Linked DNA regions of Homo sapiens: all the other regions are linked to region 7. The links are contacts of gene promoters, found by promoter capture Hi-C in blood cells and fetal thymus (Javierre and others, 2016). All regions are on one chromosome and are shown on one strand. The core of a region is centred on a gene start or on the middle of the fragment in contact, and the rest is flanking DNA. Distances in the headings are between cores, read along the strand shown.

Evidence for each region. Contacts are between HindIII fragments. The CHiCAGO score rates a contact against its expected background, and 5 or more counts as called.
Region 1: a contact is called between a fragment that was not itself captured here and the fragment with the promoter of GGT6 in region 7, in 1 of 17 cell types (neutrophils). The highest score is 8.6, in neutrophils.
Region 2: a contact is called between the fragment with the promoter of SPAG7 here and the fragment with the promoter of GGT6 in region 7, in 1 of 17 cell types (neutrophils). The highest score is 5.6, in neutrophils.
Region 3: the fragment with the promoter of GP1BA here is called in contact with the fragment with the promoter of GGT6 in region 7 in 2 of 17 cell types (neutrophils and erythroblasts); the score reaches 8.9 in neutrophils.
Region 4: a fragment that was not itself captured here is called in contact with the fragment with the promoter of GGT6 in region 7 in 1 of 17 cell types (M1 macrophages); the score reaches 5.6 in M1 macrophages.
Region 5: a contact is called between the fragment with the promoter of SLC52A1 here and the fragment with the promoter of GGT6 in region 7, in 6 of 17 cell types (neutrophils, monocytes, non-activated CD4 T cells and 3 more). The highest score is 12.7, in neutrophils.
Region 6: a fragment that was not itself captured here is called in contact with the fragment with the promoter of GGT6 in region 7 in 3 of 17 cell types (M0 macrophages, naive CD8 T cells and M1 macrophages); the score reaches 6.5 in M0 macrophages.

Annotation. Positions count from the first base shown.
Region 1 is chr17:5,013,895-5,016,594 of GRCh38, reverse strand. It overlaps KIF1C (kinesin family member 1C), which reads right to left. Exons shown (of 23, transcript NM_006612.6): 18 at 1,758-1,852. Among named protein-coding and RNA genes, the nearest start is that of KIF1C-AS1, 4.8 kb to the left of the region's middle. The HindIII fragment of the contact is 9,804 bases long and covers 1-2,700 here.
Region 2 is chr17:4,966,414-4,969,150 of GRCh38, reverse strand. SPAG7 (sperm associated antigen 7) reads left to right here and starts at 1,334. Exons shown (of 7, transcript NM_004890.3): 1 at 1,334-1,431. The coding sequence starts at 1,347. It overlaps CAMTA2 (calmodulin binding transcription activator 2), which reads left to right. Exons shown (of 23, transcript NM_015099.4): 21 at 1; 22 at 170-244; 23 at 332-1,154. The coding sequence ends at 395. It overlaps LOC124900387 (a long non-coding RNA gene), which reads left to right and starts at 1,438. Exons shown (of 2, transcript XR_007065587.1): 1 at 1,438-2,737. RefSeq lists enhancers at 1-256, 1-289, 257-934, 935-1,611, 1,199-1,698 and 1 more and a silencer at 1,109-1,188. The HindIII fragment of the contact is 6,795 bases long and covers 1-2,712 here.
Region 3 is chr17:4,930,889-4,933,588 of GRCh38, reverse strand. GP1BA (glycoprotein Ib platelet subunit alpha) reads right to left here and starts at 1,312. Exons shown (of 2, transcript NM_000173.7): 1 at 1,224-1,312; 2 at 1-990. The coding sequence starts at 984. The HindIII fragment of the contact is 9,310 bases long and covers 1-2,700 here.
Region 4 is chr17:4,156,223-4,158,922 of GRCh38, reverse strand. CYB5D2 (cytochrome b5 domain containing 2) reads right to left here. Exons shown (of 4, transcript NM_144611.4): 4 at 1,226-2,057. The coding sequence ends at 1,841. Among named protein-coding and RNA genes, the nearest start is that of CYB5D2, 14 kb to the right of the region's middle. The HindIII fragment of the contact is 188 bases long and covers 1,251-1,438 here.
Region 5 is chr17:5,034,105-5,036,804 of GRCh38, reverse strand. It overlaps SLC52A1 (solute carrier family 52 member 1), which reads left to right and starts at 1,379. Exons shown (of 5, transcript NM_017986.4): 1 at 1,379-1,944; 2 at 2,092-2,328; 3 at 2,447-2,700. The coding sequence starts at 2,199. All of the region lies in intron 3 of LOC105371501 (a long non-coding RNA gene), which reads right to left. The HindIII fragment of the contact is 18,376 bases long and covers 1-2,700 here.
Region 6 is chr17:4,195,999-4,198,698 of GRCh38, reverse strand. ANKFY1 (ankyrin repeat and FYVE domain containing 1) reads left to right here. Exons shown (of 25, transcript NM_001330063.2): 8 at 1,122-1,326. Among named protein-coding and RNA genes, the nearest start is that of CYB5D2, 54 kb to the right of the region's middle. The HindIII fragment of the contact is 8,607 bases long and covers 1-2,700 here.
Region 7 is chr17:4,559,207-4,561,906 of GRCh38, reverse strand. GGT6 (gamma-glutamyltransferase 6) reads left to right here and starts at 1,330. Exons shown (of 4, transcript NM_001288702.2): 1 at 1,330-1,525; 2 at 2,147-2,349; 3 at 2,451-2,564. The coding sequence starts at 1,386. The HindIII fragment of the contact is 2,996 bases long and covers 1-1,443 here.

The DNA of each region.
Region 1 (2,700 bases), core at 201-2,700, 450 kb before region 7:
AAGACGCACATGATAGCGTCTTTTGTTATTTTTTAAAATGTGCTGGCCGGGTGCGGTGGCTCACGCCTGTAATCCTGGCACTTTGGGAGGCCGAGGCAGGTGGATCACAAGGTCAGGAGTTCAAGACTAGCCTGACCAACATGGTGAAACCCTGTCTCTACTAAAAATACAAAAATTAGGGCTGGGTGTGGTGGCTCAAGCCTGTAATCCCAGCACCTTGGGAGGTCAAGGCAGGAGGATCACCTGAGGTTGGGAGTTGGAGAAACCCTGTTTCTACTAAAAATACAAAATTAGCCGGGTGTGGTGGCGCACACCTGTAGTCCCAGCTACTCGGGAGGCTGAGGCAGGAGAATTACTTGAACCCGGGAGGCAGAGGTTGCAGTGAGTCGAGATCGCACCACTGCACTCCAGCCTGGACGACACAGCGAGACTCCATCTCAAAAAAAAAAAAAAAGTGCTGACCATACACACCCCAGGTCCCTTGTCCCCTGGAAGGTGTTAGGCCAAGCACTCCTAGGTCTCTGAGGCACAACACACACACCAGGTCCAAGCTGACAGACAGCACATGTGTACCACGTCCTTCCTCCCTGCCCAACTCATTTTCACAGAGACTTTGCTTGAGCTTATGTGAACCCAAATCATTCTATTTTTTTTTAAGTGTTAGAACTAAAACAAACTGGTGGCCTCAAAAATACACCTCAGCAGGTGCAGTGGCTCACGCCTGTAATCCCAGTGCTTTGGGAGGCCAAGGTGGGCGGATCACATGAGATCAGGAGTTCAAGACCAGTCTGACCAACATGGTGAAACCCCGTCTCTACTAAAAATACAAAAATTAGCCTGGTGTGGTGGCGCGTGCCTGTAATCCCAGCTACTCGGGGTTGAGGCAAGAGAATCACTTGAACCTGGGAGGTGGGGGCTGCAGTGAGCCAAGATCATGCCACTGCACTCCAGCCTGGGGGAAACAGTGAGACTCCGTCTCAAATGATAAAAAAAAAAAAAAAAAAAAAAAAAAGCTGGGGGCAGTGGCTCACGCCTGTAATCCCAGCACTTCGGAAGGCCGAGGCAGGCGGATCACCTGAGGTCAGGAGTTCGAGACCAGCCTGACCAACATGGGAGAAACCCCGTCTCTACTAAAAACACAAAATTAGCCAGGCATGGTGGCACATGCTTGTAATCCCGGCTACTCGGGAGGCTGAGGCAGGAGAATTGCTTGAACCCGGGAGGTTGAGGCTGCAGTGAGCCCAGATCGCGCCATTGCACTCCAGCCTGGGCGACAAGAGCGAACACTCCGTCTCAAAAAAAAAAGAAAAAGAAAAAGAAAAAGAAAAAGAAATCTCGGCAGTCATAGCTGGATAGAGGCAGGTTTTCCACAGGGACAAGTTCCGATATTCAAATACAGGTTTTTGTTTAAAAAGGATCAGAGTGCTAGTTGTGGTGAACAAGATCAAGAAGGGCAGGATCTTCTCTTCAGCAAAATCCCACACTCTGGCTCACTAGTGTCCCATTTCTACCTTAGAACCCTCGCCAGTGCCTGACCACACAGTAGTCTGTCTTCTCAGGGTGGGTGCAGAGGGCTGGGCCTGTGGTATTCCTCCATTCATACCCATGAGCCCCAAGCCCCTCTGAGGACAAGGCCACATCCCCTCTTTATATGGCTGCACTCCCTGGTGCCCAACCCAGACCTCTGAGTTCAGTGTGTGGGGTGGAACATGGGGCCTCTCTCCCTGTCTGGCCTCTCTCACCCCCTCAGCCATTACCTTCTCCATCTGGCTGGGGGATGCTCCGGAACAGACAGTGTTGCTCCCGAATGAACTGTCCGGTCAGCTTGATGTCCATATCTACTTGGCCGACCCTGGGGAAGCAATGGCCAACGTTTGTGAGCATGTGCCAGACTTTAACCAAGCCCCTCCTGAACACCAGTTTATCCAACTCAATGAACCAAGCCAATTATTCCCATTTCACAGATGAGGAAGCAGAGGCTCAGGGAGGTGAAATGGCTTGCCCGGGTTCATTCAGTGGGCAGTGAAGTGATGCTGGGATCTGAGCCCAGGTCTGCCTGACTCTGAAGCCATGCTCTTAGTCACCATGTTATACAGCAGGCTCGCCAACTTCTCTTGAAGCTGGGAGAGCATGCAGGGCTGTGGAGGCAGCTGTTTAGAGATCTGAGTTATCTCCAGGGACCACCAGGGAAGGGAGGCACCAATGTGGCTAACCCTCAGCAGCCATACCCCAAAAGCAGAGGCTGCCCCCCGGGCCACTGGGTACATGCTACCTGGGTACAAGCAAACCTGGGAGAAACGGGCACCCTCAGCCACAGGCCTCCACCCATCCTTAGGTTGATGATCCTGAGAGCTCACTCCCTACCCAAGATGACTACCAAGGACAGCCACGAATGCCTGTGGTGGGAGGGGAAGGGCACCCTCACCCCTTTAGGGGAGGCACCGAGCCCCCATGACTTCATAATACCAGCCCAAGGAGCCACATGCCCTTAGCTGCCCAGCCCTCAACCGCACAGACCAGGCCGTGTTTCCCTTCTCCCGCCCCCAGGGAAGGCCCCACCAAGGGAGGCCAAGGCAATGGCATCAGGGTCTAAGAATGAGGGGGTCTATGTTTCCCAACTCTCCTGCCCCAGTAAACAAGGTTGTCTCGCCCTAACCAAACTGGCAGGTGGAGGCAAGACAGCCACTGAGCAGGCACGCT
Region 2 (2,737 bases), core at 85-2,584, 410 kb before region 7:
AGTAGGGCCCAGCCCCAGCCCTCTGTGCCCACCCACTGCATCCACGCCATTCCCCCTTACTCATCCTCTTGATCATCATGCCTCACTGCCATTCCCTGCCTAGGGTTCCTGGGGGGGCCGAAGGCATGCGATGCCTTCTGTGAGGTCCATCTTTTGTTTCTTTCACCAGAGGCTCCTTTCTCACCAAGAAGCAGGACCAGGCAGCCCGGAAGATCATGAGATTCCTGCGGCGCTGCCGACACAGGTACTCATCCCTTCTCCCCCTGGGCTTTTGCGTTGCCACCCGTCGTGATCCGCCAGTCTCCTCTGACTCCTATCTTTCTCTCTGCAGGATGAGGGAACTGAAGCAGAACCAGGAGCTGGAAGGGCTTCCCCAGCCGGGACTGGCCACATGACCTGGCCACCGCCTTTCTCACCACCCTGGGGGCGCCTCGTGCAGTCTTAACAGGGAGAGGGCTTTCTGGGGCAGGGGGAGCCCCTGTCGGCAGCTTTCCTGTTCACCTTTGTTGGAGCCCTCTGTAGGCCTCCTCCCTCCTCCCCACGCCTTGCTCCCACACCCCTCTCCTCGTCCCTCCTGGTCGTGCCCCGTCTCTTTTGGTCCTGGCTCCAGAAAACCCGCGCCCCACATACCTGCATCTTCCGCTGTGACCTCCGGAGCCCTGCCTGCCCCTGCTCCCCAGCTCCTCCTGCCTGCACCCGACTCGGCCCCCTCCTGACTTGCCTTATTTATTTGTTCGACGCGTCTCTGAATGTATCCGCCTCGGTTCCCACCACTGCCTTCGCTGCGCACGCCCCTCGTGTTTCAGGGCTGACCGTGTCCCCACCCGACTCCGCATGTTTGCGTCTGTTTCCTCCCTCTCTGGCCCTGTCTTACCCCATCACCCGACTCTGGCCACTGACCTCAGGGCCGAAGGGGAGGTGGTGTACATAGGAACGCGTTGCGGAGTCCGCCCCGTCCCCCGAGGGGAGGGGTCTTGTACATACTGTAACATACAGAGTATAGTGAAGAATCTATTTAAGGCGCCGCGGGGAGGGCTGCACGGCCGGGCTTGTGGTTCTCTAGCGCGGCGGGGGCCTCCTGCCGGCTCCACGGGCACTTTCTACTTGTGCATGGGCTTGGTTTATACGAATTGCCATTAAACATCGCTGCACCAGCCAGCCTCCGGCCTCTGTCTGCGGGGGCGGGGCGGGGCCTAGGCCAGCTGGAGGCCGCCATGCACCGCGGGCCTGGGATCTGCGCCCAGGCCAGGCGGGCCCAGGGTTTTCCGCCTCCGACGTGTTTCCGGCCTTAAAGGCATTCCGCCCTTCCCTTTAAGACGCACCGCCCCCTCTCAGTCACTCCCAAGATGGCGGACCTACTGGGCTCCATCCTGAGCTCCATGGAGAAGCCACCCAGCCTCGGTGACCAGGAGACTCGGCGCAAGGCCCGAGGTGAGGATCCCAAATTCACAACCGCCTTCCTTCGCCCGGTTCTCGGGACCATACTTCTCCCTCTTTGGACGATGCCGCCTCCTCAACCTTGAAAGACCCCTCACAGGCCCCTTCCGAGACCCTCAGAGTCCCTAAAAGGGCTGCTGACACGCCCGCTGTTCTTAGCGGACAGTGATTGGCTACCTGAAAGATAGCGCCAGCCTCCTGCCTCTTCTCCCGACCCTGGCCTTCCGCAGTCCTTGTTTCCCATTAGCCGGCCGTCCCGCCTGTCCGCTGCTGACCTGGTCTGATTGGTAGGGTGCCTCCAACCTGCCGCATTCCTGCCCCGCTCACCTCTAGCTCTATTTCGATTGGATTTAGGACACGCCATCTACTGTGCCTTCATCTCTATTGGCTATCTCAACTTAAAGCTCTGCCTCCTCAGGCCTGTTCGACCTTCCTTCGAAACCACCCCAGCCTGCGAATTCCCATTGGTTGCAGGGTCCTCTGTGTGTTCTTGCCCCTCCTGCTTAATTTAACCCAGTCCCTTCTGCCTCCCTCCGACAACCTTTTTCCCATCCGTAGCCTTAAATTCCCGAGCTGCCCGGGCGGATCGTAGTGTTGATTGGAGGGATGAGAATACCCGCCGGGTCCGATTGGCCACTGTCTCCGCCTGCGTTCTCGGAGTAGCTTCCCTGCGGGTGGGCTGGAGTTCGGCGGCCGGCGTAGGGCGCGGCCCTGCAGGGCGGTGGGAGCCTCCCCGGGGCTGCTCGTGTTGCAGCTTGGGATGATACTGGCGGAACGCAGGACCCCAACTCCCAAACCTGCGGACCTTGACCACGGACGAGCCCTGTCCCAGCTCCCCACGTGCCCCAGGGGGACCAGAGCAGGCAGGACGCCTTCCAAGTATTCAAGGGCCGCTGGTTGCCTACGCTTCGTCCCCTTGTTTCTTGAACAACCGTTAGGGACCAGGGGTACCCCTCAGGGAGGCCACAGTCCGGGGCTGGGGCGCTCATTGATGCAGTGATCACACGTAAGTTTAATAACCAACTTGATAAGTGCTCTGAGAGAAAAATAACTGTGAGAGCGGCCACCTGAGGTTCTCCCCCAATCTGCAGTGAGCCGAGATCAGAACAGGTAATTCCGTAAATGAGAGAGAGAAGCAAAGCGTTACAGGCAGAAGAGTCTATTTGAAATCTCTGAGAAAGGAGGAAGCATGATGGGAATGGGGAACTGGAATTCTCTAATGCTCCGATGACTGTCTAAGTGGGGGATCACCCGGCATTGACAGACTGGGAAGCTTAAATGAGTCACTCGCCTGAGGTCA
Region 3 (2,700 bases), core at 63-2,562, 370 kb before region 7:
TGAGTAGAATAGACCCCAGGGGGTTGTATGGGCTTTGGTGGGGAACTTGACCACAGTCCTTGTGGCACGCACCTTATCGCCCTCAGTGTCCTCTTCTGGGTAGTAATCATATAGGTCTGTGTCACCTTCATCACCAAGGGTGGGGCACCCCTTTCCTGGGTATTTGTAGACGGGAAACTTGTCTGAATTGTCACACTGCACACTGGCCACGTTAGAGGTCATGGCCTTGACGTCCACACCTTGCTTCCATACGTAGACATTTTCAGCATTGTCCTGCAGCCAGCGACGAAAATAGAGGATCTCACAGTTGCATAACCAGGGGTTCCCGTGGAGAAAAGCAAAAGGCAGGAGGTGGGACCCAAAAAAGCCCTTTGGTATTGTATACAGCGAGTTCTCTTGGAGGAGAAGGGTGTCGAGATTCTCCAGCCCATTCAGGAGCCCAGCGGGGAGCTCAGTCAAGTTGTTGTTAGCCAGACTGAGCTTCTCCAGCTTGGGTGTGGGCGTCAGGAGCCCTGGGGGCAGGGTCTTCAGCTCATTGCCTTTCAGGTAGAGCTCTTGGAGTTCGCCAAGACCACGCAGGGCACCAAGAGGCAGCGAGGTCAGCCGGTTGAAGGAGACGTCCAGGACGGTGAGAGCAGGCAGTGTCTGCCCTAGCAAGGGCAGGCTTTGCAGCTGATTGTGGGATAGATCCAGGGTCCCCAGCACTGGCAGCGTCCCATCGACCTGGAGCTTGGTGAGCTCGCACCTATCTAGGTTCAGCTGAGTGAGGCGAGTGTAAGGCATCAGGGTTGCCAGGGAGAAGGTGTACAGGAGGTTCTCACTCAGGTGGAGGATGGTTGTGTCTTTCGGCAGGTCTGGAGGCAGCGCTGTCAGATTCCTCTTGTCACAGTTCACTTCTAGGTGGCTGGCCACTTTGGAGACCTCACAGATGGGGTGGGGGTGTAAGGGGCTTGGCAGCAGGAGCAGCAAGAGGAGGAGAGGCATGAGGACCTGTGGGCAAGGGAGCCTTGAGTGGATCCCCCTGCATCCCCTGGAAGCATCCCCCCAGGCCCCAGCCCCCTTCCCCCTGCAGCTTCGCTTCCAGAAACAGCATCCACACCTCCTGTCCTCCCTACTCCCATCTCCCACCCTTGCCTGCAGAACTTAAAACTACTAGCTCCAGGTCCTTGGCTCTTTCCCCTCCCTCAGACCCCTCTCCTGCCCCAGCACCAACCCCGGCTTACAGGCAGGCAGAAAGACCTCCGAAGGCACAGAGCGTCTTCTAGGGTGCCACTCGACTCCGTCCTTCTCTCTTCTAGCCCCATGGAGGACTAAGCCAGTGGCAAGGAAGGGGATGGGGGTGAGGAGGAAATGCAGGCCTGATAGGGATTCCAGTGACCGGGAATCCCCTGGACACAAGCCCTTATCGCCTCACTCCACGGCTTTCCCCCAGGCCCTCTTTGTGGTTCTCTCTTCCGCTTTCCTTTTACACAGGGGAGATGGGGGTGGACTCCTCCAAACAGCCTTCTGCCATCTTTTAAAAACCTCTCCAGGGCCGGGCGCGTGGCTCATGCCTGTAATCCCAGAACTTTGGGAGGCTGAGGCGGGCGGATCACCTGAAGTCAGGAGTTCGAGACCAGCCTGACCAACACGGGGAAACCCTGTCTCTACTAAAAATACATTAGCCAGGCGTGGTGGCGCATGCCTGTAATCCCAGCTACTCGGGAGGCTGAGGCAGGAGAATCGCTTGAAACCGGGAGGTGGAAAGAGGTTGCGGTGAGCCGAGATCGTGCCATTGTACTCCAGCCTGGGTGACAAGAGCAAAACTCCATCTTAAAAACAAAAAAACCTCTCCAGATGCCCGCTTCTCTTCCTCTTCACAGCTGCATTCTGAGAGTTGCCTACTTTTAATTCTCTCCCACCTTTCTCTCTGCCTTCTCACCCCAGTCTATGCTGATTTCTTTCCCCTGCTACTCCATTGACTCGGTTCTTACCAAGGTCTTTAATGCTCTCCCTCCTCTACATCCATGGGAAACTTCTCCACTGTGATCTTACTTTATTTCGGCAGCCTGCATACCCATGGCCACTCGCCCCTTGGGATTCTCCTTTTGGCCTCTGTGACACATGACCCTGTAATTTTCTTGGTTTTCTTCTTACCTGTTTGGTTGGGCCTTCTCAGTCTCCTTCATAGATTCCCCTTCTTGAACAATTAAACTGCCCCCAGAGTTTGTGCTTAGGCTGTCTTCATTCCCAGCTAATTTTTATATTTTTAGTAGAGACGGGGTTTCACCATGTTGGTCAGCCTGGTCTCGAACTCCTCATCTCAAGTGATCCACCCACATTGGCTTCCCGAAGTGCTGGGATTAGAGGCATGAGCCACCGCGCCCGGCATTCTCTTCTTTTCTTACGCTATGCAACCACCTGAGATTATCCTCATCCATTCCCTTGCCTTCAACCACCACCTACAACCTAATGACTCTCAAATCTATGTCTCTAGTCCAGACCCTTCTCCTGAGACACAAGCACATATGTCCAGCTGCCTTCTGGACATCTCTACTTGGATGTCCCACAGACACCAAAACAATATGTTCAAAGCTGAACTCACCATCTCTCTCCAAATGGCTTCTCCTCCTGTGTTGCTCAGCCTGGTGAGTGGCACCATCATCCACTCATTTACCTAACCATTCAGTCAACACAAACAAAATCCCTAATAGTCATCTC
Region 4 (2,700 bases), core at 95-2,594, 400 kb after region 7:
GGGAGTACAGTTAGGATCCTTCAGTAATCCAAGTGAGAAATGACAGCCTAGGCCAGAGGAAGAGTACTAGGGACAGATAAGAGGGAAGGAAAGGGAGAGAATGAGGGAGGCAGAGGTCCCAGGACCTGCAGGCGGGTTAGGAGGAGGGAAGGGAGGATGGAGTGTGGACGGCTGCTCGGATGCTGACTCTGCGTGTAGCTGGTGGTGCCATTCCCTTGGAGAACTAGAAGCAGCATGGGAGGGGAAGGTGAAATGCTCTGCAAAGCTGCCTGGAGTAGACGTGCAGGTTTGACGGTCTAAGTAACTGTCGGATTTGGAGTGAGAGGAGCCAATGGGAAGGGGTTTGTGGAGGCAAAACGGGGTTCTCAAGGCAATTAAGAAGGAATGGGCAGAGGCAAAAAGGGAAGCAGGATAAAGCCCAGCGAGGGTTTCATGGAGGACCCCACGGTCCACAGTATCCAGAGTGACAAAGCCTAGGTAAGAACTGGATGTGACCACGGAATGTGCCAATGCAGAATTTCTCCTGATTTTTAGAGCAAATGGAGCTGAAAAGCAAAGCTAGTGAGTATAAGCCAAAACTGGAGTTGAGGGAATGTTTATGATGTGAGAGAAGTGAGCTGTTTGATGCATACCTGGGGGAAGATCCAGGAGACGGGGAGAGGTTAAAGGTACAAGAGGGGCAGGTGAGGAGGATGGCGGGGGCAGGCAAAAGGAGCCATGAGCCAGAGCCCAAGTGTAAGGAACAGCTGTGGCCATAGGGGCAATAAGCCCGGGTCTGCCAGTGAGGGGACAGGGGCAGTGAGCACGGGTCTGCCAGTGAGGGGACAGGGGCAGTGAGCACGGGTCTGCCAGTGAAGGGGACAGGGGCAGTGAGTACGGGTCTGCCAGTGAAGGGGAGGCAGCCTCCATTTTCTAGTCTGTGAATCTGGAAAGCGATTTAGTGAAATGAATGATGGAGAAAAAGGAGACAGTGACAGAGAGGGAGGAAGCTGGTGGATGTTGAGGGTGAGACTGAGCGGCAAAGGGAGCTGGGTGGAAGCTCTGATGAGGCGATGCACAGAGGCCGTGGCGCTGTCTGTGGTAGTGCTGGTCCCACTTCTCTGTCTGAAGTAGGAACACTCCTTGCCCCCATCTACCTTCACAAGTAGTCAAGAGGTAACAGGTATGACATTGCCAGATGACGCTGGACATACAAACCACTGGACAAGCAGCAAGCCCAGCCACCTTAAGTTTGAAGCCTTGCCCAAGCTTTAATGTCATGCTAACCAGTTACCTTGTTAGAGCTGGGAAGCCACCTTTTGCTCAAAATGCAGACTTCTGCCTTTGAAAACACACCACACCTGATTTTAAGTGCTTAAAGGACAGAAAATGTCGTTGCTTTAAATTGTTGCTTTGTTCAGAGACATCTGGATTTGCTGTATCCATACAAGCAAAAGCTTTTCCAATTCCAGAATCAACCCACACTAATTTGTTATTGCCTCGTACTGTATTGGCCCAGCTGTAATCAACTCAGCAGGCTTTTGGTTGTAAATTCAAGTGGAAATTGAGTTGGTCTTATTTGTGCCCGTTGATATCTGAGGGCTGTGAGGAAGATGGCCAGTAGGTCAAAGGGAATAGTGTTGAAAAGCTGACCAGTACTGGGCAGGTGGCCGGCTGTCCCTCAGGCACCACAACGCCGAGCCACGGTAAGGGGCATGAGCCACATTTGCAGAATATAGCCAGAGTCCTTCCAGACCCTCCTGATTCGCGCCAGGAGGCATCCCAGGGCACACAAGTGTCAAGGGCCTACTCAGGTGCTTGGCAGAGCTCTCTGTGTGTTATTAACAGAAGAGGCTACGGCTTAGAGTGGAAAGGAGCATGTGATGGCTAGCGGTGGGCAGCCTGTGTACTCTGCCAAGTTTGGGTGGTCCAGGTCCCCACGATTTCTGTGTGGAGGGTTGTCCGGCATCTGGCCACTAGGGGGGCCGGTGGTTCTCACACACACGCAGCGGGGCTCCTTAGCACCTGGCTTATACAGCTTCCTGGGGACGCCAATCCAGTCTCTGCTCACACCTCCACTAAGGATAGACGGAAAGAGGACTTCTTAAATGTGAGAACTCATGAGTCTCTGGGAAGGGGAGAGCAGGAAGCAGAGAGCCAGGCCTTCTGAAAAGTAGAAGCCTACCAGAGTGTTTCCCAAGGCAGCAGGCTACAGCGCTCAGCCCCTGAGCCTTCATGCTCTCTCCTAACATCCTCCAGCTTCCCCTGCAGGGCCACCACCACCTTCCCCAGGCCAAGGGCACAGTCCATGGTTCCTTTCACTGTGCTCCCCAGCCCCTGCCCTGCCCCTTCTTAGGAGGCAGCACCACGTTCCTGCACTGGTGGCAACAGCTGTGAAAGGGCTTCCCCTGCTGGCCTGTGAGCTTCTCAGAAGCAGTGTCTGGGTGCGACTGTCCTCTTCCTTCCCCACTACAACCCAGCGCAGGTCAGGGTCTTCACCTTCTTCTCTGGGGCACTTGGCTGGGGGTGGGCAATTGGGCCCTGGCCCTTGGCCACCTGGGTCGGCCTTCTCTGGGAAGCCCTTGGCATAGAGTGTAGCTGCAAGCTGTCCTGTGCCCCACAGGTCCAGTCCTTGATGGCACTAGGCTTCAGACACGGAGGATTCAGCTGTGGCCCAACAACCTGAGCACCCTCCTATCTTGGGCAGGGGCCTTGCCCACC
Region 5 (2,700 bases), core at 130-2,629, 470 kb before region 7:
TGTCTTAGCTAGCAGGCCATACAAAAATGGGTAGTAGGTCAGGGTAATCCCTGAGATGGTCAGTGAGTAAACAAGTACAAAATATCATTAAAGGGCCAGACATGGTGGCTCACGCCTGTAATCCCAGCACTTTGGGAGGCTGAGGCGGGCGGATCACCTGAGGTCAGGAGTTCGAGACGAGCCTGGCCAATATGGTGAAACCCCATCTCTACGAAAAATACAAAAATTATCCAGGCGTGGTGGCAGGCGTCTGTAATCCCAGCTACTCGGGAGTCTGAGGCAGGAGAATGGCGTGAACCTGGAAGGTGGAGCTTGCAGTGAGCCGAGATCGCGCCACTGCACTCCAGCCTGGGCGACAGAGCGAGACTCCGTCTCAAAAAAAAAAAAAAAAAAAAAAAAAAGCAAAAATTAGCCAGGTGTGCACACCACGTCCAGCTAATTTTTTTTCAACCATTTAAAAGTGTAAAAACAGCTGGCCAGGCACGGTGGCTCACGCCTGTAATCCCCAACACTTTGGGAGGCCGGGGCAGGTGGATCACCTGAGGTCAGGAGTTCAAGACCAGCCTAGCTAACATGGCGAGACCCTGTGCACTAAAAAGACAAAAATTAGCAGGGCATGGTGGTGGGCGCCTGTAATTCCAGCTACTCGGGAGGCTGAGGCAGGAGAATGGCTTGAACCCGGGAGGCAGAGGCTCGTGCCATTGCACTCCAGCCTGGGCAACAAGAGCAAAACTCCGTCTCAAAAAAAAAAAAAAAAAAAAAAAGTGTAAAAACAGCTGAGCGTGGCGGTAGCTAGGTGTGGTGCGTCTGTAGTCCCAGCTACTTGGGAGGCTGAGGTAGGAAGATTGCTTGAGCCCAGGAGTGCCAAGCCAGCCTGAGCAACATAGTGAGACCTTGTCTCTACCAAAAAAAAAAAAAAAAAAAAAAAAAATTAGCTGGACATGGTGATGCTCGCCTGTGGTCCCAGCTACTTGTGGGGGGGTGGGGAGAGGCTGAGTGGGAGGATCCCTTGAGCTTGGGAGGTTGAGGCTGTAGTGAGCCGCGATCGCGCACCGCTGCGCTCTAGCCTGGGTGACAGAGTGAGACCCCGTCTCAAAATTAATTAATTAATTAAAACAACAAACAACAAAACCCCAGCTGTGTGGGCTCTGGGCTGGGCCGCCTCCCCGGCGGAGGGGGCTCCCTCTCAGGCAGACCGCCAGCCGCTGGGTCCGGGGACTGCCGGATCCGGAGGTGCGGGGACCCCTGCGCACCTGGCGGCTCCCGGGATGCCCCCCTGAGGCAGGCGGGAGGGCAGCACGGAGACGCCCCTCCGGGCAGAGCCCGCCCCAGCCACTCCCCTCTCCAACTCGACCTGCCTCAGCAAGTCCTGAGTGTCGCAAAAGCGCTAGGGTTGCAAGTGGCACCAGAGACGTGCCCTTGTCCCGGGGTCCATTTGAGGGTGAGCGTGTTGGTGCCGAGCTGTTTTTTTGTTTTGTTTTGTTTTGTTTTGTTTTTGAGACCGAATCTCGTTCTGTCGCCCAGGCTGGAATGCAGTGGTGTGATCTTGGCTCACTGCAACCTCCACCTTCCGGGTTCAAGTGAATCTCCTGCCTCAGCCTCCTGAGTAGCTGGGATTACTGGCACCCACCACCACGACCAGCTAATTTTTGTATTTTTAGTAGAGACGGGTTTTCACCATGTTGGCCAGGATGGTCTCAATCTCCTGACCTCAGGCGATCTGCCTTCCTCAGCTTCCCAAAGTGCTGGGATTACAGGTGTGAGCCACCGCACCCGGCCAGTGCTGAGCTGTTTTGACAACTTGGACCCCGGGTCCTCTGTGGGTAGGAAAATCAGCTCCCTCTTTGCTCCTCTGGGGCAGCTGCACCTCGGGCCAGCTTTCTGCCTGTCTGCCTGCCGGCACTGCTGGGTCGCTGTACCCAAACGCACAGCCGGTGCCCCGTGGTAAGTCCTGGCTCCCCACCTTCCCCGCCCGCCCCCGGCCACCTCTCCCTCCAGTTGCCCTGGTCTTAGCAGTCTGACCGACTTGTCTTCTGACTCCGGTTCTGTCCCACCAGCCTATTACCTGCCAGCCTGTCTGTTTCCCTCCAGCTAGAAGGTCTTCAGTTTCCAGAAGAACCAAAGCATCTTTGGACCTACCTAGGGAAGGACCTGCCTGTGACCTTTGCCCTGTCCTGGAGGGTCCAGCTTTGGGCTGAATGGCAGCACCCACGCTGGGCCGTCTGGTGCTGACCCACCTGCTGGTGGCCCTTTTTGGCATGGGCTCCTGGGCTGCTGTGAACGGGATCTGGGTGGAGCTGCCTGTGGTGGTAAAAGACCTTCCAGAGGGTGAGTGGGAGGGAGGTACAGGGAAGCGTGGGGCAGGTATGCCCAGAAAGGTGGCCTGTGGCAGCTCTTTGTCCCTTAGCCACTGTGCTCCTGACATGGCATCATTCCTTCCCTGCAGGTTGGAGCCTCCCCTCATACCTCTCTGTGGTTGTGGCGCTGGGAAACCTGGGTCTGCTGGTGGTGACCCTGTGGAGGCAGCTGGCCCCGGGCAAGGGCGAGCAGGTCCCCATCCAGGTGGTACAGGTGCTGAGTGTAGTGGGCACAGCCCTGCTGGCCCCTCTGTGGCACCACGTGGCCCCAGTGGCAGGGCAGCTCCACTCTGTGGCCTTCCTAACTCTGGCCTTGGTGTTGGCAATGGCCTGTTGTACCTCT
Region 6 (2,700 bases), core at 12-2,511, 360 kb after region 7:
TATAATGAGATTACAAAACTAAAAAGAGGCCGGGCACGGTGGCTCACATCTGTAATCCCAGCATTTTGGGAGGCCGAGGCAGGTGGTTTTCCTGAGCTCAGGAGTTTGAGACCAGCCTGTACATCATGGTGAAACCCCGTCCCTACTAAAATACAAAAAATTAGCCAGGTGTGGTGGCACATGCCTATAGTCCCAGCTGCTTGGGAGGCTGAGACATGAGAATTGCTTGAATTTCGGAGGCGGAAGTTGCAGTGAGCTGAGATTGCACCACGGCACTCCAGCCTGGGTGACAGAGCAAGGCTCTGTCTGAAAAAAAAAAAAATCTAAAAAGAAAATAAATTTTATAATAATAAAACAGACATGGGATTACTCTGAGTAGGAACGTGAATGCAAGTACAGCAGAATGGGGGTAGGTGTTGCTTAGTTAGGTACAAGCTGTGGTCAGGAAATAAGAAAGAAAGAGAAAGAGAGAGAGAAATTGTGTAGGGAGGGATCCTGGAAACCCTTCTGAGAGATGACCGAAGGAGGCCTTTGAAGAGTAGAAGCCTAGTGTTCTTTTTTTTTTTTTTAAGACGGAGTTTTGCTCTTAATCCCCAGGCTGGAGTGCAATGATGTGGTCTCAGCTCACCGCAACCTCCACCCCCTGGGTTCAAGCGAATCTCGTGCCTCAGCCTCCCAAGTAGCTGGGATTACAGGCGTGCACCACCACGCCCGGCTAGTTTTGTATTTGTAGTAGAGACGGGGTTTTTCCCTGTTGGTCAGGCTGGTCTCCAACTCCCGACCCCAGGTGATCCGCCCACCTCGGCCTCCCAAAGTGTTGGGACGACAGGCATGAGCCACTGCGCCTGGCCCAGCCTAGTATTCTTAAACAGTGAAAGGATACTGAGGTGAGGAGGCAGGACAAGTGGTAACAGGTAACCAAAAATTGAGCAGAGCCTTTTGAATTCGTCTGTAACTCCATGATCTCAATGAGTTTCCACTTACAGATGCCCCAAGAGGTTCCTTCAGACACATCTAGTTATCGCTCTCCTTTGTCTGCAGTCATTTTCTGCTCCCTCTTGAAGAAGCACTGGCCAGAATACTTTGCCCTGACACTGTTTCTTCTATTATTTCTTTTCAAGGAGATCTCTTTGCTGCCACTTTCCTCATTAAGAATGGGGCCTTTGTCAACGCTGCTACACTGGGTGCCCAGGAGACACCACTGCACCTTGTGGCCTTGTACAGTTCAAAGAAACACTCAGCAGATGTGATGTCTGAGATGGCGCAGATTGCAGAGGCCCTTCTGCAGGCTGGTGCCAACCCCAACATGCAGGACAGCAAGGGGAGGTAAGCTGGGGAGCAGACACTGTGCCCTTAGCACTGTTCTCAGAAGATATCTTACAGTAGCATGTAATTGGCATACGGGGAGTTCATGTTCTTTAGTTTGGCATTATTCAGTCTTATTTTCATTAAAGTCACAGACATCGATGTGTAGTAGTAGTGTCACTACTAAAACCAGAGGCATTTGGGGAAAACATTTCTATCCTGGGTAACTGAAGTCTTCGAGGTTTTTTTTGTGTGTTGTTTGTTTGTTTTTAATTGTGTCAGCATCTCACTCTGTCACCCAGGCTGGAGCGCAGTGGTATGATCTTGGCTCACTGCAGCCTCTACCTCCTGAGCACAGGTGATCCTCTCACCTCAGCCTCCTGAGTAGGTGAGACTACAGGCACACGCCACCCCACTTGGCTGATTTTTGTATTTTGGTGGAGACAGGGTTTTGCCATGTTGTCCAGGCTGGCCTCGAACTCCTGAGCTCAAGCAATCTGCCCACCTCGGTCTCCCAAAGTGCTGGGATTACGGGCGTGAGCCAGTTTTCGAGCTTTTAAGCAATTTGTATCTCATGTTTGAAGGAACCAGAGTGGTCATCTAGTCCAGTGCCTCCAAGGAAACCTTGTAGCATTTCTTAGAGTTGCTTGGATAGTTTGAAGAACTATTGAGGTCTAATTGTTAGAAAATTCTAATTGTTAGAAAATTCTCTATATTAAACCCAATTTTACCTTCTCGTAAACACTCCCACTTTATCTGCACAGCTTGCTACCTTTGTCCATAGCACGGCCCTTTGCATATTTAACAATATTTATTGTGTTCATTTTGCCCCTTTCCAGAAATAGTTGAGGATTCCTTGTGGTAGGATCTGAGAAAAGGCTACTTGTCTTGGGACAGTGGTGTGAGGGGCTGTGAAGGATAGTTAAGTCACCTGAATCACTGACCACAGTTGGGACCCGCTTGTCATTAGAACATTCTCAGTATTTTATACCTTTGAAAAACCTCTCAAAAAAAAGATTTTTTGTAAAGTTTGGTTGTCAGACAGGAGAATGTATTTATGTGATAGATAAGTACGTAAATAAGATGTAGCTTCATGAAATCTCAGTATCATGTGATAATTACCTTATTTCCTAAAATAATTGCATCCCTTTCCCTGCTGTTGATTCTTTCATTTTTTTCCTCCAACGGCAATAAACTCGCAGTGTGTGTGTGTGTGTGTGTGTGTGTGTGTGTGTGTGTGTGTGTGTGTAGTAGATGCAGCCTTGGGCTCTGACTCAAAGTGTGTGTTTTTGGGGGGAGGTGGGGGGCGGGGTAGGTGCAGCCTTGGGCCCTGACTCACTGTGTGGGTGGGGGGTGGTGGGGGGGGTGGGTGGGTAGGTGCAGCCTTGGGCCCTG
Region 7 (2,700 bases), core at 81-2,580:
AACTCAATGCATTTTCACACCCAGGGCACTCGTGTCACCAACACTCAGATTAAGAAACAACATCTCGGCCGGGCGCGGTGGCTCACACCCGTAATCCTAGTACTTTTGGGAGGCTGAGGCGGGCGGATCACCTGAGGTCAAGAGTTCAAGACCAGGCTGGCCAACATGGTGAAACCCTGTCTCTACTAAAAATACAAAAAATTAGCCAGGCGTGGTGGCATGTGCCTGTAATCCCAGCTACTCGGGAGGCTGAGGCAGAAGAATTGCTTGAACCCAGGAGGTGGAAGTTGCAGTGAGCTGAGATTGCACCATTGCACTCCAGCCTGGGCAACAAGAATGAAAACTCTGTCAAGAAAGAAAGAAGAGAAAGAAAAGAAAGGTAAAGGAAAAAGGAAAGGAAAGAAAGGAAGGAAAGAAAGGACATCTCCAGCATTCCAGAAACCCCCTGGTACCTCCTCCAGTCACTATCTGACTTCTAAGGGCAGACTGTTGTTGCTCTTTTGTTGTTGCCTGTTTGTGTACTTTGTGTAAATGAAAGCATATAGCGTGCGCTGTCTCCTGCCTGGCTGCTTTCCCTCGTCCTTATGCTTGTCAGACCTGTGTATATTATTGCATATAATTGTAGATCACTCACTCTCTTTGCTGCAGAGTGGTCCATTGTGACTTACATCATTCATTCTAACGATAATGGATGTTTGGGCACTTTCCAATTTGGGACTGTTACAAACAGCACTGTTTTGCAACAAGTCCTTGATGGGAATCCCAGAATGAATTTAGAAATGTTGGTTTCCAGGCTGTGGCGCTACCTTCTGGACAAGAGTCGCAAAACACGCACAGGGAGTTACGAACCAAGTTGCTCCTCAAAGAAACCCAGACCCAGAGTAGCCACAGGCTGAGCCTTGACCCCGGCCAGAGACCAGACACCCCTACGCCAGAACCTAGTCACGTGCAGACTCAAGCACGTGGGAGCTCTGACCCAAGCCACCGTGAAACCGTAGCTCTAATTCAAGTCCACAGTCCCTAGAGTCCCAGGTGGGTGGGATCCATGGGCTACATCCCCCAAGGGGAGGAGCCCAGCAGGTGCCCTGAGTATCAAGGTTGTGGCATTAAGGCTGAACTCCTTCTCGACCTCACTGAGCTGTGGCCCCTTACAGGCAGTCACCCCGGGAACCCTGTCGCGAGAGCTCCTCGGGCCTTGTGTCCTAATGGGGCAGGCTCACATGCAGCCTCCTTGGCCCCGTGCCCTGCCCAGACCTGTTCTGGATTCCACCCCCACCCTTCCCCAAGGTCGCTGCCACCTCCCACCTGCCAGGCTTGGGCAGGGCCTCTGAGACACAGCCGGAAAGGCTGGCAGGCAGGAGGGCTGGGGCGAGCACTGGGGGGCCATGGAGCGGGCAGAAGAGCCCGTGGTCTATCAGAAGCTGCTGCCCTGGGAGCCAAGCTTGGAGTCGGAGGAGGAAGTGGAGGAGGAGGAGACATCAGAGGCGCTGGTTCTAAACCCCCGGAGGCACCAGGACTCTTCCAGGTAAGTAAGGGAGGGGTCTGGGCACCAGGCTCCCCAGGCTTGAGGTTGGCAAGTCCCTCTCTCTGGAGCCCCTCAGGGGGACCAGGCGACTCCCCGCTGGGTTTAGCTCCAGGCACTGTACGGTCAATTTGGGGGAAAACCCAGGCTGTAGCCCGAGACTTGGCCTGACCCAATCAAAAGTCTGTGCATCTGGAGGGACATTTGTACCAAGCCAGCCTCTGTCCCATCTGCTGCTTTGTCAAAGGTCCCCAGCCCCCAAGTCCTGGTGCAGGAGGCACCTGCTGGGCAGGTTGGGGCCTGACTACGCCTGGCTGGGCCTGCTCCCCAGCCCCTTCTCTCCTGCCTGCCACACCCCACTGGGCCTCCCTCCCACCTGAGTGGACTCTGCCCCACCAATCTCCCCTCCAGAGGCTCCCTCCCTAGCTAGGCTCAGTTTCCCCAGATGCTTTCCCATCCCCATGTCTGCCCAAGATGCACCCGCTGCCAAGAAGCCCTTTCTCCTTGGCTGACTTGTGCTCCTCTTGCTAAATCAAACCTTTTGGGAAATATTCCCTGGGGTCTCTTGGGGTCCTTGGGCATCCCTCTGTCCCAGCCGTGGCTCAGGACACCCCCCCTCTGCAGGAACAAGGCTGGCGGGCTGCCCGGAACCTGGGCCCGTGTAGTGGCAGCCCTGCTGCTGCTGGCTGTTGGCTGCTCCCTGGCTGTGAGGCAGCTCCAGAATCAGGGCAGGTCGACAGGAAGCTTGGGCTCTGTGGCCCCTCCACCCGGCGGACACTCCCACGGCCCTGGCGTATACCACCACGGTGCCATCATCAGCCCTGCAGGTCAGTCAGTGCTGGGGGCGGCTTGGGGAGGGGAGGGTCAGGGGTCACCAGCCCAGCCTAGCCCCCCTCCTTGCTGCATGACAGTGCCTTCCTTGCTGCAGCCACATGCTCCCACCTAGGCCGAGAGCTGCTTGTTGCCGGGGGCAACGTCGTGGATGCTGGAGTTGGAGCTGCATTGTGCCTGGCAGTGGTGCATCCTCATGCCACGGGGCTAGGTCAGTGACCCCTGACCCCAGACTGCAACCCCAACCCACAGCCTGATCAGTGACCTGGAACTTAGGGAGTCAGTAGCACTGACCTCAAGACTGCTAAGTGAGCAGGACTTAGGGTTTGGGCAGCAGTCCAACCCCA